5 separate regions of the Homo sapiens genome follow, and regions 2, 3, 4 and 5 are each linked to region 1. The links are contacts of gene promoters, found by promoter capture Hi-C in blood cells and fetal thymus (Javierre and others, 2016). All regions are on one chromosome and are shown on one strand. The core of a region is centred on a gene start or on the middle of the fragment in contact, and the rest is flanking DNA. Distances in the headings are between cores, read along the strand shown.

Region 1 (2,818 bases), core at 208-2,707:
CCTCACCAGGCAGGGTTATGCTCCCGCCCTCCTCCTTGTAATTATTACCTGACCCTCTGCCTCCTGCAACGCCAGGGCTGGAGGACAGGCTGGCCCCTATTCCTATGGGCACTGGCCAACATCCAACGCCTGGGACATAAACTGCACCCAATGGTATGTGAACTGTACTTTACAGTTTGCACGGTGTGTTCTGGTATTTGCTAAATCTTCACACATGCTCAGGTGGCAGTACGTTTTAATGATACAGGCGAGGGAACTGGGGCTCAGAAAGGTCTAGTGCCTTGCGCATGGGAGACTCAAGTGGTAGAACCGGTGGCCGGGCTCCGGGCTCTGAGCGGAAAGCCTGCAGGACTCGGAATCCTGAAGACCTGGGTTTAAACCCGCTCAGCTAGGGACTGGGTGAGGCATCGCAGGCAAGTGACTTCACCTCCCAGCGCCGGTGCCCTAGTCTTCACCGAAGACAGCAATTCCAATCTGGGACTGTGGTGAGGCTTAAATAAAACACTGCTCAGTAAGTGGCCAGCAGGCCTGGCTCGCAGCCGGAACTATAAATGTGAGTTCCCTTTCTGACCCCCAGGTTTGGCGAGGGCTCCTCCTGTTTGGGCAGCAGCTCCTCCTGAGCTCCCGAGGCCACGGGGGTGCCAACTGTGGAGCGCCCGCCGTGCCGTTTAGACGCGAGAGCTGCGTCGGGTACCAGCGATCCTTAAAGGAGCTCGGGGACCAGGGGCACAGCTTGGAGAGGACAGCGAGGGAGGTGACTGGCCTCGGGGAGGCGGGCGGTGGATGGAGAGGCATGAGAGGGGTGTTGTCAGCCGCGGCACACGCCTTCCCCAAGTGGCCGGCGCCGCCCCTTGCCACCACTTCACCTCCGCCTCTTCCCTTCCTCCCTAGCTCCTGGCAGCGTCTCTAGGGCCTCAAAAAGCAAGGAGGGTCCCCGGGCAGCGAGGCCCCATGGATCCAGCCTGCGCCTGCTCCCAAGGGCGCGCAGGTCCCGCCCCTGCCGGGCGCCCGCCCCCCGGGGAGCGCAAGCCCCCGCCCCTTCCCTCGCCCCTCCCCTGCACGGCGCCGGCTGGCTGGAGGCGGGGCATGCGCACGGGCCTGGGCGAGGGCGCTGGGCGGCGGGGAGGTGGGGCGCGCGCGTGCGGCTTCTCTCAGCCGGGAGCGGCGGGGGCGGGCACGGGCAGCAGCGGGCCGGCGGTGGGCGGGGAGCGGGACGCGGGAGCCGGGCGCGCGCCGCCAGCGCCGCCGCGGCACCGGTGACCGCGAGCCCGGAGCGCGAGGTCCGGGGATGCGAGCGGCCGGGAGCCGCCGCGCTGCTGAGCCGGGAGAACTCGATCCGCGGTGACCTCAGCGAGGGGCGAGCGCGGCGGCGGCGAGCCCCGCGGGAATCCTCGGGGCCGGGGTGCGGGGGGCGGGGACGGCGGGAGCGCGGGGCGCAGCCCGGGCGGGGCTGGGACAGTGATGAGAGAGCGCGCGGGGAGGCTGCACGCCGCCGCCGCCGCCGCCGCCGCCGTCGTCGTCCGGAGCATCTGCTGCCTGAGCTGCTGCCGGCGGACCCGGCCATGGAGACACTGAACGGCCCCGCGGGCGGAGGTGCCCCGGACGCGAAGCTGCAGCCGCCCGGCCAGCACCACCGCCACCACCACCTCCACCCGGTGGCCGAAAGGCGGCGGCTGCACCGTGCGCCCTCGCCCGCCAGACCCTTCCTCAAGGACCTGCACGCCCGGCCCGCCGCGCCCGGCCCGGCCGTCCCCTCCTCGGGCCGAGCCCCGGCTCCCGCCGCCCCGCGCTCGCCCAACCTCGCGGGCAAAGCGCCGCCCTCGCCGGGGTCCCTGGCCGCGCCCGGCCGCCTCTCTCGGCGCAGTGGCGGCGTCCCGGGCGCGAAGGACAAGCCCCCGCCGGGCGCCGGGGCCAGAGCGGCGGGCGGTGCCAAGGCTGCCCTGGGAAGCAGGAGGGCGGCGCGCGTGGCGCCCGCGGAGCCGCTGTCCCGGGCTGGGAAGCCTCCCGGAGCCGAGCCGCCGTCTGCCGCTGCCAAGGGCCGCAAAGCCAAGCGCGGCTCCCGGGCGCCACCCGCCCGCACCGTCGGCCCCCCGACCCCGGCCGCCCGGATCCCTGCCGTGACCCTCGCGGTGACCTCGGTGGCCGGGTCCCCGGCCCGCTGCTCGCGCATCAGCCACACGGACAGCAGCTCCGACCTCTCTGACTGCCCCTCCGAACCCCTGTCCGACGAGCAGCGCCTGCTCCCTGCCGCCAGCAGCGACGCCGAATCCGGCACGGGCTCCAGCGACCGTGAACCCCCACGAGGAGCGCCGACGCCGAGCCCCGCAGCCCGAGGAGCGCCGCCGGGCAGCCCCGAGCCCCCAGCGCTCCTCGCCGCGCCCCTCGCCGCGGGCGCCTGTCCCGGGGGCCGGAGCATCCCGAGCGGGGTTTCGGGGGGTTTCGCGGGGCCCGGCGTGGCGGAGGATGTCCGGGGGCGCTCGCCACCGGAGCGACCAGTCCCCGGGACCCCCAAGGAGCCCAGCCTGGGCGAGCAGTCTCGGCTCGTGCCAGCGGCGGAGGAAGAAGAGCTGCTGCGGGAGATGGAGGAGCTGCGCTCGGAGAACGACTATCTCAAGGTGAGCCGCGCCTCGGCCGCAGGTGTCCCGGGGCGCCCCCGGAGGGCCTGGCTGCGGCGGGGACCCGCCAACCCCTCCTTCCCGGGCCTGTCCAGCGCCTTCTCCCTCCTGCTCTCCACGGTCCTACCCCCGCATTGTCAGGCATTGGCAACTTAAGCCCAAACTTCTGGAAGGAGAAGCAAGACCTGTGGGACCCCGCCAGT
Region 2 (2,818 bases), core at 158-2,657, 480 kb after region 1:
CTAAATTAATAAAATAACCTAAACCAAAATTTCACTCCTTAAATTCATTTAAGTAGAGCATAACTTAAGTAATTGTATTTTATAGCAATTTAATTTTTATGTAAAGTCCTCTCATTAAATATTAAAATAGTTAGGATTTTGACAAGAATGTTCACACCTTTCACTGCTCATCTGTGGTCTTTTCCCCCCATTGATTCTAGTTTAGTTTAGAAATGTCTCCACTACTCTTTTAGCTATAAATCAGTATTTAAAATTTGCAAAGCAGAATCTTTTATAAACTCTGTTAAGATAGTCTAAAACCTGGTTAAATTCATAAAATGTGAGAGAGGGGATATTAATTATTTTAACCATCTGAATAGTTCTGTTATATCCTTTTCGTCATCAGTGTAGTTCAGACATTCATTATTTCCTCTCCAAGTGACTATTGAGAATTTTTTCTTTTATTATCCAAGTATTATAATACATGTTTGTTGTAAAAAATTAGAAAATACATATAAGAATAATGAAAATAGAAATTACCTATTACCTTGTCAACAACTGTGAAGGTTCTGAGATTTTACCCTACTTGTAAGCTAATTAGCTTCATGGATGCTGGCAGAAGACACAATTCCTAGGTCAGTGATGAAGGAATATTTGCTATTCAGCAATAGCAGTAGCCAGAGTATCATTGTTTGTGCCTGTTCCCTGAGCCTCGCTTCTCACAAGGGGGATGCAGTGATGGGCAGATGACAACTGCATATGCAGTGGGTTGTATTACAGGGTAGGAACCCCAAATCTTTTATGATGGGCAGTAAGTCTGCCTGAACTTTTCCCTAGAAGGAGACATTATTACACTGGACAGCAAACAGGTATGTCCTTAGCTTTAGAGGGAGACACTACCTCTGTCTTTCGAGGCTGTTTATCATACAAATACCCATGAAAAGATAGTCCAGGACAAAGGAAATTAGTGTGTCTGCTCGCAACATGTGCAAAAATGCAAGAGAGACATGGAGAATTATGTCCCAACACAGCTGTAATGGCACCACCTACAGATAGCTATTAACATTTTGGTTTACAGGCATACCTCATTTTATTGCACTTCACTTTATTGTGCTTTGCAGATAATTGTGCTTTTTACAAATTGAAGGTTAGTGGCAACCCTGTGTTGAGCAAGTTCATTGGCAACATTTTTCCAACAGCATGTACTCACTTGTCTCTATGTCACATCTTGATAATTTTCATATTTCCAACTTTTTCATTATCATGATGATGATTAGTGATCTTTGTTACTGTTGTAGTTGTTTTGTGGGCACCACACTGTATGCAGAAAAGATGGCAAGCTTAATGTTGTATGTGTTCTACTGCTCCACTTACTGGCTTCTCTCCCAACTCCGCCCCTCCTTGGGCCTTCCTATTTCCTAAAACAACAATTTTGAAATTGTTGTGTTTCAGTGGTCTCTAAGTATTCAAGTGAAGAGTGGAATGTCTCTCATTTTAAGTCAAAAGCTCTAAATGATTAAGCTTAGTGAGGAAGGTATGTCAAAGGCTGAGAGAGGTCAAAAGCTAGGCCTCTTGTGCCAGTTAACCAAGAGAGGAATGCCAAGGAAAAGTTCTTGAAGAACACTAAAAGTGCTGTTAAAGTGAACACACCATAAGAAAGCAAAACAGTCTTATTGCTGATATGGAGGAAGTTTGGAGTGGTCTGGATAGAAGATCAAACCAGCTACAACATCCCCTTAAACCAAAGTTCAATCCAGATCAAGGCCCTCTCCTCAATTCTGTGAAGGCTGAGAGAGGTTTGGAAGCTGCAGAAGAAAAGTCTGAAGCTAGCATAAGTTGGTTCATGAGGTTTAAGGAAAGAAGCTGTCTCCATAACATAAAAGTGCAAGGTGAAGCACCAAGTGCTAATGTGGAAGCTACAGCAAGTTATCCAGAAGATCTAGCTATGATCTTTGATGAAGATGGCTACACTAAACTACAGATTTCAGTATAGATGAAATAGCCTTCTATTGGAAAAAGATACCATGTAGGACTTTGAAAGCTAGAGAGGAGAAGTCAATCCCTGGCTTCAAAGCTTCAGAGGACAGGCTCACTGTCTTGTTAGGGACAAATGCAGCTGACAACTATTAAGTTAAAGCCAGTGCTCTTTTTCCATTGCAAAAACGCCAAGACCCATAAGAATTACGTGAAATTTACTCTGCCTGTACCTTATCAATGGAAAAACAGTGCCTAATGACAGCACATCTGTTCACAGCATGGTTTCCTGAATAGATTAAGCCTACTGTTGAGACTTACTAAGAAAAAAGGATTATTTTCAAAATATTACTGCTCATTGACAACATGTCAGTGAGCTGTCACCCAAGAGCTCTGACAGAGACATACAAAGAGAATAATGTTGTTTTCATGGCTGCTGACATGCAGTCCATTCTGCAGCCCATAGGTCAAGGAATAATTTTAACTTTTTAAACAAGTCTTATTAAAGAAGTATGCTTTGTAAGGCTGTAGCTGCCATAGAGAGTGATTCCTCTGATGGATTTGGGCAAAAAAATTGAAAACCATCTTGAAAGGATTCACCATTTTAGATGCCATTAAAAACATTTGTGATTCATGAGAGGAAGTCAAAATACCAATATTAACCAGAGTTTGGAAAAGTTGATTCTAACACTCATGGATGACTGAGAGGGTCAAGACTTTAGTGGAGGAACTAACTGTAGATGGGATTGGAAAACGCAAGAGAATGAGAATCAAGTGGAGCCTGAAGATGTGACTGAATTGCTGAAATCTCATGATCAAACTTGAAACCTACTTTTAAAACAACCTTATAAGCAAAACACTTGGT
Region 3 (2,818 bases), core at 176-2,675, 390 kb after region 1:
TTTTGTAATCTTTTTTTTATTAAGTTGCCACACATTATGGGCATCTTTTCTTTACAATAAATATTTTCATTATTATTTTTAAATCTGCAGAGCAATATCCCATTGTATGGCTGTACTGTTATTTAATAAATTCTCTACCGATGTCATTTATATAGCTTCCAGGTTTTCAGTATTACAAATAACACCATGATAAACATTTTTGTATACTTTTTCAGTTACTTCCTTAGGATAAATTCATATTAAGAAACCGAACACATATTGCCAAATTACCCTCTCCAGAGGCTGATCTTATCACACTCCTACCATCACCAATGAGAGCATGTAGCTCCACACATTACCAACAACAGTGATCAGCAATTTGCAAATCTATCAGGCAAGAATTACATTCATTGTTGTTTAATTACTTTGACTACTTGCTAGGGAAGCATGGATCAAATTCTGATAGAAAATTTCACTTCAGCTGCAGAAGCTGCTAGGATCAGTCCCATGTTGGGGAAGTAACGAGCGATGTGAATCTGATAATGGCTTAGGTGACGTTCTGCTTATATTATTTTTTTAAAACAATCTGTTCTTGAAGTCTATGTAATTAAGTTACTGGCTGTTTTGATTTTCATTTTCCCTTTTGGTCTCGAATATGCAAGAATAACTTGAGAAGAATCTGAAAGAATCATGCAGAACTCACTCGCTAACCTCACGTCCCCCCTCACCTCAATGTGAAATGGGTCTAACACTTCAGTTTACCAATGTGACCGGATCATTCTTCTTTACATGCTCCAATTTCCTGCTGGAAATACTTCTCTCTCTCTCTGTCTCTCACCCAGCAGTAACCTTATCCCATTTTTCCCTTCCATTGAGTTTTGACTTTATACCAACTGGCTCCCTTTCCCTGCAAAGCAGGACTGGGCCTGCAGCTCACATTTTTCATTAGAAAACCCAGCAAGGCAGGCACGTCAGTATTGTTATGTGAGGGCATGCTGAGAGCCAGAGTGCACGATCTACCTGTGGCTGCTTTAATAAGTAGGATGTGACTTAGGAGTTAATCACAATTTAGAAAGCCTGACTAAAGTGTTCCATAGATGGAGCAGACAAGTTGTTAGATACTGAAAAAAAAACAAAAAACAAAAACAAAAACCCAAAGCTTTTCTGAACTCTTACTGTGTACCAGGCACCATGTTCATCATTTTCCATAAACTGAATGATTTAATGTTCTAATTATACTTTCAGAAACTGAGAACCAAAGCTTCACAAAGGCGAGTAAGTGACGAGGTCAGAATTCAAATCCAATTACAAAGCTCATGATTTTCATTACACCACGTCCTTGATAGTGCCTATGTGTGATGGTTTAAATGGCTAAGAAATCAAGAATGAGAGAGTCAAAGTTCCCACATTTGGTCATCCCTGTAGACTTTATTCTAGCTCCCCCAGCCTCCAGTCCCTCACTCCCCACCCCCAACACCCACACATTCTTTATTTAATGGCTTGACCACTATAGTTAGGGCCAATTTCCCTGGGCTTATGGTACTAGTGCCAACTTAGAATAGTGGAATATATCAAACCAGGCAGCCATGATGTTCACTATGGGTTCATTACATAATCAAGCCAATTTCAATCAAGCTTGTAGGGTTAGGTCAGTAACTTGAAATCATCGATGTCCATGCTGGTCTGTGTCCAGAAATAATGACTTTGATAGTGGGAGGAAGAAGAGGAATTTTCCAAACAGCCCCCACAATTCTATCCTAAGGACTCTGAGAATAGTTGATTGCACATGAGGCTACTTTATAAGTGGAGTGGCTCCAGAAATTAACTTACGTTACTGGGTGTAAAAGATATCCATTCTGACATTCTCACTTAATAAATATTTGGGCTAAGGATAAGCCAAAGTCATGCTGGACATTAACAAGTCTTTTGACTTGGTGAACAGTGTGGTGCCACACTTACTGGCAGTTGAATTGAAATAAAGTTGAATTGAACTAAAAGCATCTTACTTTCTGTAACATCTTCAAGAAGGTGTTAACAGGTTAGACACTCCCTTAGCACACATCCTTAATGTTTTAAACATTACTCTTTGCACTTTTTGGTTCTGTTCCTAGGTAATAGAAATTGGGGGCACCTGGTAAGTCCTTGATTAGTGTCAGGCACCAGTGGGATATACACTTTCTCTATAGGTCATGAACTCAAAAAGACGGTGGTCTACTGTGGATGATCCCGTTAGTTGCCTACCTAGATTTACTTCTTCAGCCCCTTCCTTGCTGGCAGAGCTATTTTGTTCAGGAGCTAATGGGCCCCAAACTAGCCCTTCCATTCTCCTTTCTGATTAGTGGCTTAATTATCTTAATATTGTAATGTTCTATTCTGATGATGGTGATGATGATGATGAAGGCTAACACTTACTAAGCATTTACTCTGTGCTAGGTACTTTTTAAAGAACTTTAAAAGGTATCAACTCATTTCGATACAGGAGTTAAGAAGAAATTGCTTAGGCAGATAGTGAGGGTATGGGAGTCCTCAGTAAGGTTTCCCTTTTAATAAAAAGCAGCCGCCAATCATTTTCTTTTCTAACAAAGAGCAGCCTGTAAAATCGAGCTGCAGACAGACAAGCAAACTAGGAGCTTGCACAGGTGAATTCTGGCAGTTGTGCCCATAGGAATATACTACCTGGGATGAGGCATGTTCAAAGTGGCGGCCCCATCTTCTCTTTTTGCCAGCAACGTGTACAGTAAGGAGCAGACTAGATGGCACTGCCCAAGTGGAAAGCCCATTTGTATAATAAGATTAGGGTTGGGAGACCAGCCTTCCCCTTGCTACATAAACGTTACAC
Region 4 (2,818 bases), core at 233-2,732, 330 kb after region 1:
CAGTGGCGCAATCTCAGCTCACTGCAACCTCCGCCTCCCTGGTTCAAGCAATTCTCCTGCCTCAGCCTACCAAGTAGCTGGCACTACAGGCGCCCACCACCATGCCTGGGTAATTTTTTGTATTTTTAGTAGAGACGGGGTTTCATCTTGTTGGACAGACTGGTCTTGAACTCCTGACCTCAGGTGATCACCCGCCTCAGCCTCCTAAAGTGCTGAGATTACAGGCGTGAGCCACCACGCCCAGCCCTATTGCAGTTTTAAGTATTTTCTTTAAGAGAAATAAAAATTGATGTCCAAGAATCTGTATACTAATGATCATAGCGTTAGCCATAATAGTCCCAAACAGAAAACAACTCAAATGTTTATCAGTAGATGAATAGATAAACAAGTTGTATATATCCCTGCAATAAACACATCAGCAATGAAAAGGACCAAATTACTGATACACAGATGAATCTCAAAAATATTACAATGAGCAAAAGAAGCCACAAAATAGTACATACTGTGTGATTCTATTAATATGAAATGAGAAAAGACAAATCTAACCTTTAGTGACAGAAAGAAGACTGGGCAGAAGGGAACTTTTGTGAAGTGACAGAAATGCTCATCTTAGTCACAGTAGTAATTACATAGCTGTATACTGTCAACAGACAAAATTATAACAAATTTGGTTATAAAGCTGTTTAGCTTTGTTCAAAACTTGTGAATTGGGACAGCCTCCGTTCTACAAAATAGGATGAGAGCTCCCACCGAGCTAAGGAAGAACACTGGGGTTTGTAAGATGAAAACAAGGAAACAGAACAATAGCACTGATTAATATCACATTACTTTTTTTCTAAAGGTTAAAGCAGAGAGACTGCCTTATTATGCTGACTCAGGTAGACTGGAATCTCCTGTTCTCAGGAAAAACTGGTCTGTTTGGGGATCTATCTGCTTGCTTCCTTGAAGTTTCAGTTTGATTATGTGGCATTTAGCATAAGTGACTCTATTTTGGTTTGGTCTGGTCTGTTGGGGCCTAGCACAGGAGTTCAGACTAAAATAGTGGCCTCCCATGATTTTAACAGTACGATTGTCAAAACTCATCAGATAGTACATTTATAATGGGTGCATTCCACTGTATGTAAACTTAAAGAAATTCTCCACCAGGAGCAGTGGCTCATGCCTGTAATCCCAGCACTTTCAGAGGCCAAGGCGGGTGAATGTTTGAGCCCAGGAGTTTGAGACCAGCCTGGGCAACATGACGAAACCCTGTCCTATAAAAATGCAAAAATTAGCCGGGCCTAGTGGCCTGCGCCTGTAATCCCAGGTACTCAGGAGGCTGAGGTGGAAGGATCACTTGAGCCCAGAAGGCGGAGGTTGCAATGAGCCAAGATCATGCCACTGCACTCCAGCTTGGGCAACAGAGCAAGCCCCTGTCTTTAAAAAAAAAAAAGAAAAGAAAAGAAAAGAAAAAGAAAAAAAGTCCTTTCTTCCCTATACTTTTCCATCTCTCCAAATCAGCTTCATTTGGTTTGGTTTCTTTTTTTATTCCTCCTTTCATCTGTTCAGAACCGGTCCTCTCTGAGGAATATTGTATTTGTTTCTTTCAAATGTAAATTGTTTTGGCATTTTCAGCTCCATCCAACTCTCTCAACTTCATCCTTTCAGGGATATGCATAATACAACTCCAGTCTGTACAAAGCACCCTTCCTCCTTGGAAGGTGGAGGCTGAGAACTGCAGATACTTATAAATTGCCCCCCCGCCCCGCCACACACACACACACACACACACACACAAATACATTGCTATGCCAATGGCAGTGCCAAAGCCAGGACTATAATCCAGATTACCCAATTTTCTGATAGAATGAATGTGTTTCTTATGCCAGCTGCAGCTTAACATGCAAAATTCCTTTTTTGTCTTCCAGTTCAATATACACTATTTGAAGAGATGTTAGGTAAATCCCGTATTTTCTTCAGAGACAGAAGCTGAGGAGGCTGGGTTGGGAGTGAGGGTTTAATTTGCAACCACGTTAGATGTCATGGCCCCCAGGCTCACTGCTTTGCAGAAGAACTTAGGTAATTATCATAAGGAACAAGTGCACACAAATCAAAGGTCAACTGAGCTGAAGTTATTTGATTTAGGATTTTGGTGATGTTCTTTGTCCTTGTTAATGCTGCTGCCACTTTTTGTTTGTTTTTGTTAAAAAATAGCAACCAAGTGCCCACATTTAAGGTATTTTCATCACAAGTTTACTGAAGAGCAACTCAATATTGTCTTTCTAAGAATTCAAGCTACATTCATTCCTCTCCTAGCCTGTCCCCATGGCAACAGTACCCAGGTGCCATTTTAGCAGGTTTTACTTAGTAACTTTCAGCATCAGTACGATTTTTTGCATTGTTCTTCTTGTATATACTAAATTAGAAAGGTTAACAACAAAATGATGGACAATAGAAAACACTTCCAAACTCATTTTATGAAGCCAGCATTATCTTGATGCCAAAATGAGACAGACACCACAGTAAAAGAAAAAACTGGCCAGGCGTGGTAGCTCACGCCTGTAATCCCAGCACTTTGGGAGGCTGAGGTGGGTGGATCACGAGGTCAAGAGATCGAGATCATCCTGGCCAACATGGTGAAACCCCATCTCTACTAAAAATACAAAAATTAGCTGGGCGTGGTGTTGGGTGCCTGTAGTCCCAGCTACTTGGGAGGCTGCGGCAGAATCACTTGAACCCGGGAGGCAGAGGTTGCAGTGAGCCAAGATCGCGCCACTGCACTCCAGCCTGGCGACAGAGCGAGACTCTGTCTCAAAAAAAGAAAAAAAAACTATTAAAA
Region 5 (2,818 bases), core at 131-2,630, 310 kb after region 1:
TGACCTCATGATCCGCCCGCCTCAGCCTCCCAAAGTGCTGGGATTACAGGCGTGAGCCACCGCACCTGGCCTGTTCTGGTTTTTTTAAGACCCTCATTAAGCTTCCTGTCCTGTCTCTGTCTATTGCCTCTGTCTCTATAACATTTCCAGAAAATTCATGTCTTCTGCCTCTCTCCAACCTAGAAAACTGATGGAAACGGGACCACCGATGGAGTACTTCCACTGTAATCTTATGAGTCTATTCTTTCTCTCATTGGCTAAGAAGAATTGCCTACATGATTTCCACATTATTTCTGTCATAAAAGCAATGAAAATCATATTTATTTACTTATCTAGAGAACAGAGTCTGGCACATAGTAGCAGAAATTCAGTAAATACTTGTCTTAGTCCATTTGTGTTGCTATTTAAAAAAATACCTGAAGCTGGGTAATTCATAAAGAAAAGAGGTTTATTTGTCTCATGGTCCTGCAGGCTGTACAGAAAACATAGTGCCAGCATCTGCTTCTAGTGAGGCTTCAGGCTGCTTCCACACATGGTGGAAGGCAAAGGCAAGCTGGCATGTACAGACGACATGGTGAGAGAAGAAGCGAGAGAAAGAGAGACAGACAGACAGAGAGGAGAAGGTGCCAGGCTCTTTTCAACAACCGATTATCTTGGGAATTAAGAGTGAGAGCTCGCTCACTCCCACCAGACAGGCACCAACCCATCCATGAGGGATCCTCCCCCACAATCCAAACACCTTCCACCAGGCCCCACCTCCACTGGGGATTAAATTTCAACATGAGATTTGGTGGGGCCAAACAAACCGTATCCAAACCATAGCACATATGAAGTGAATAAAGGAATGAAGGAATGAATGAATGAGTGAAAACTAGGGAATCTTGACAATCTGACATAATGATTGCTAAGATGGCCTTTAAGTAGGGAGATGACACTATAGAGATGATATGAATGATCCAGGGTAAGTGACTGAGCTTTTAGCTGTTTTATCAAGAGAAAAGTTGATTTAGTGTAACTCACACTACTTGAATTCAGATCAGAAGACCTGCCTTTTCTGATCTTGGCTACGATCACACACTTGCCAGATTAACATTTCTGGGCCTCAGTTTCCTCATGTGTAAAATCATGAAAAATGGCCAGGCACAGCGGCTCACGCCTGTAATCTTAGCACTTTGGGAGGCTGAGGCAAGTAAATTGCTTGAACTGAGAAATTCAAGACCAGAGTGGGAAACATGGCAAAACCTGTCTCTACAAAAAAAAAAATACATAAATTAGCCAACATGGTGGTGCACACCTGTAGTCCCAGCTACCTGGGAGGCTGAAGTGGGAGGATCACTTGAGTCCAGGAGGTCTAGGCTGCAGTGAGCTGTGATGGCTCCACTGCACTCCACCCTGGGTGACAGAGCAAGACCCTGTCTCACAAAAAAAAAAAAAAAAAACATGGAAAATAATACCTACACCGGGCGAGGTGGCTCACGACTGTAATCCCAGCAATTTGGGAGGCCGAGACAGGAGGATTACCTGAGGTCAGGAGTTAAAGACCAGCCTGGCCAACATGGTGAAACCTCATCTCTACAAAAATACAAAAATTAGCCAGGCATGATGGCAGACACCTGTAATCCCAGCTACTTGGGAGGCTGAGGCAGGAGAATCACTTGAACCTGGAAGGTGGAAGTTGCAGTGAGCCGAGATCGCACCACTGCACTCCAGCTTGGGTGACAGAGGGAGACCCTGTCTCAAGAACAAAAAAAACAAAACAAACAAAAAAAAAACATGAAAAATAAGGCCTACCACCTTGCCGCATTGTTGTCAAGTTTCATGCGTCCAGGGAACACTAGGAAACAATTCTTTACTTTGTTCTTGGGTGATAGAGAGGAATGAGAAAAAGAAGGCATCTCTGTGACTGGACTATTTTATTCATTCATTCATTATCTATTCCCACTTGGAGATTCACCTTCCAGAATTCTGGGGCAAACCTGAAGAGCTTTGTGTTCAGTTTCAACAAGTCAACTCTCCATTGAAATGTGAATGAACTTTGTGGAGAGACCTTTCTATGGCAGCCTACTCTTATACTGGGCCCATGAGGCCAGTTCAAGGCCATGGACAGTTGTACATTGTTGAATACTGCACAAGGACATTACACCTAAGGGGACTTTTCACATTGTAGGCATGTCATGTGTATTTATCGTGACAGTTTCCTGGCATATGGAAGCAACATATCTTGTACTACCAAAAATCAGTATATGGTAGTAATTTCCCAACAAATACAAATACAATTTCCTAAGGAAGATATCCCGTTGTCCATTAGCATAAAAGTACTGCACCATACCAGCAGGTGCACCTCTGAGATCTGCTTGTCCCCACCTGATGTCTGTGCCTCTGCTGCTTATTCCAGGAGCAGGTGCAGTTGCCACACCACCACCCAGCACTCAGCCTCCCCTGGCAGAGGAACATGACCACCATTACGTCCTCTGTAGCTACAGCCCCAGCACCCAGGTGGGAGTCAAGCAGACCCCCACGGGCTTTGACTGCCCCGGGGGGCTGCCCAGAGGAACACAGAGTAACACACTCAGAAACATGGGGGAGATAACACCCCAAGGAAGGAACATGGACCAGTGAGAGTTGGGAGATGGGAGAAGCTGACAGATAAATGGCTCATTCAAGCTTCCCATGGCTTCTTGCGCCATTCCAAGAGCAATGGCTCCATGCAGCCTCTCCAGAGGTTCATGTCCTTGTGAGATGGTCACCAGCTTTTTCTTACACCACCTCTTATCTGTGTTCCCTCCTTCCCACCTCACAGCCCTCGCCCCTCACCTTG

What was found. Contacts are between HindIII fragments. The CHiCAGO score rates a contact against its expected background, and 5 or more counts as called.
Region 2: a contact is called between a fragment that was not itself captured here and the fragment with the promoter of MTCL1 in region 1, in 1 of 17 cell types (total B cells). The highest score is 5.7, in total B cells.
Region 3: a contact is called between a fragment that was not itself captured here and the fragment with the promoter of MTCL1 in region 1, in 2 of 17 cell types (naive B cells and fetal thymus). The highest score is 5.3, in naive B cells.
Region 4: a contact is called between a fragment that was not itself captured here and the fragment with the promoter of MTCL1 in region 1, in 1 of 17 cell types (M1 macrophages). The highest score is 5.1, in M1 macrophages.
Region 5: a fragment that was not itself captured here is called in contact with the fragment with the promoter of MTCL1 in region 1 in 3 of 17 cell types (endothelial precursors, naive B cells and megakaryocytes); the score reaches 6.7 in endothelial precursors.

The regions. Positions count from the first base shown.
Region 1 is chr18:8,704,099-8,706,916 of GRCh38, forward strand. MTCL1 (microtubule crosslinking factor 1) reads left to right here and starts at 1,458. Exons shown (of 15, transcript NM_001395333.1): 1 at 1,458-2,615. The coding sequence starts at 1,563. The region is part of intron 1 of GACAT2 (gastric cancer associated transcript 2); the gene reads right to left. RefSeq lists silencers at 803-1,242, 1,623-1,682. The HindIII fragment of the contact is 5,801 bases long and covers 1-2,818 here.
Region 2 is chr18:9,187,498-9,190,315 of GRCh38, forward strand. All of the region lies in intron 2 of ANKRD12 (ankyrin repeat domain 12), which reads left to right. Among named protein-coding and RNA genes, the nearest start is that of ANKRD12, 52 kb to the left of the region's middle. The HindIII fragment of the contact is 181 bases long and covers 1,318-1,498 here.
Region 3 is chr18:9,096,596-9,099,413 of GRCh38, forward strand. No RefSeq gene overlaps it. Among named protein-coding and RNA genes, the nearest start is that of NDUFV2, 4.7 kb to the right of the region's middle. The HindIII fragment of the contact is 374 bases long and covers 1,239-1,612 here.
Region 4 is chr18:9,037,568-9,040,385 of GRCh38, forward strand. No RefSeq gene overlaps it. Among named protein-coding and RNA genes, the nearest start is that of NDUFV2, 64 kb to the right of the region's middle. The HindIII fragment of the contact is 3,394 bases long and covers 1-2,818 here.
Region 5 is chr18:9,012,214-9,015,031 of GRCh38, forward strand. No RefSeq gene overlaps it. Among named protein-coding and RNA genes, the nearest start is that of NDUFV2, 89 kb to the right of the region's middle. The HindIII fragment of the contact is 2,563 bases long and covers 100-2,662 here.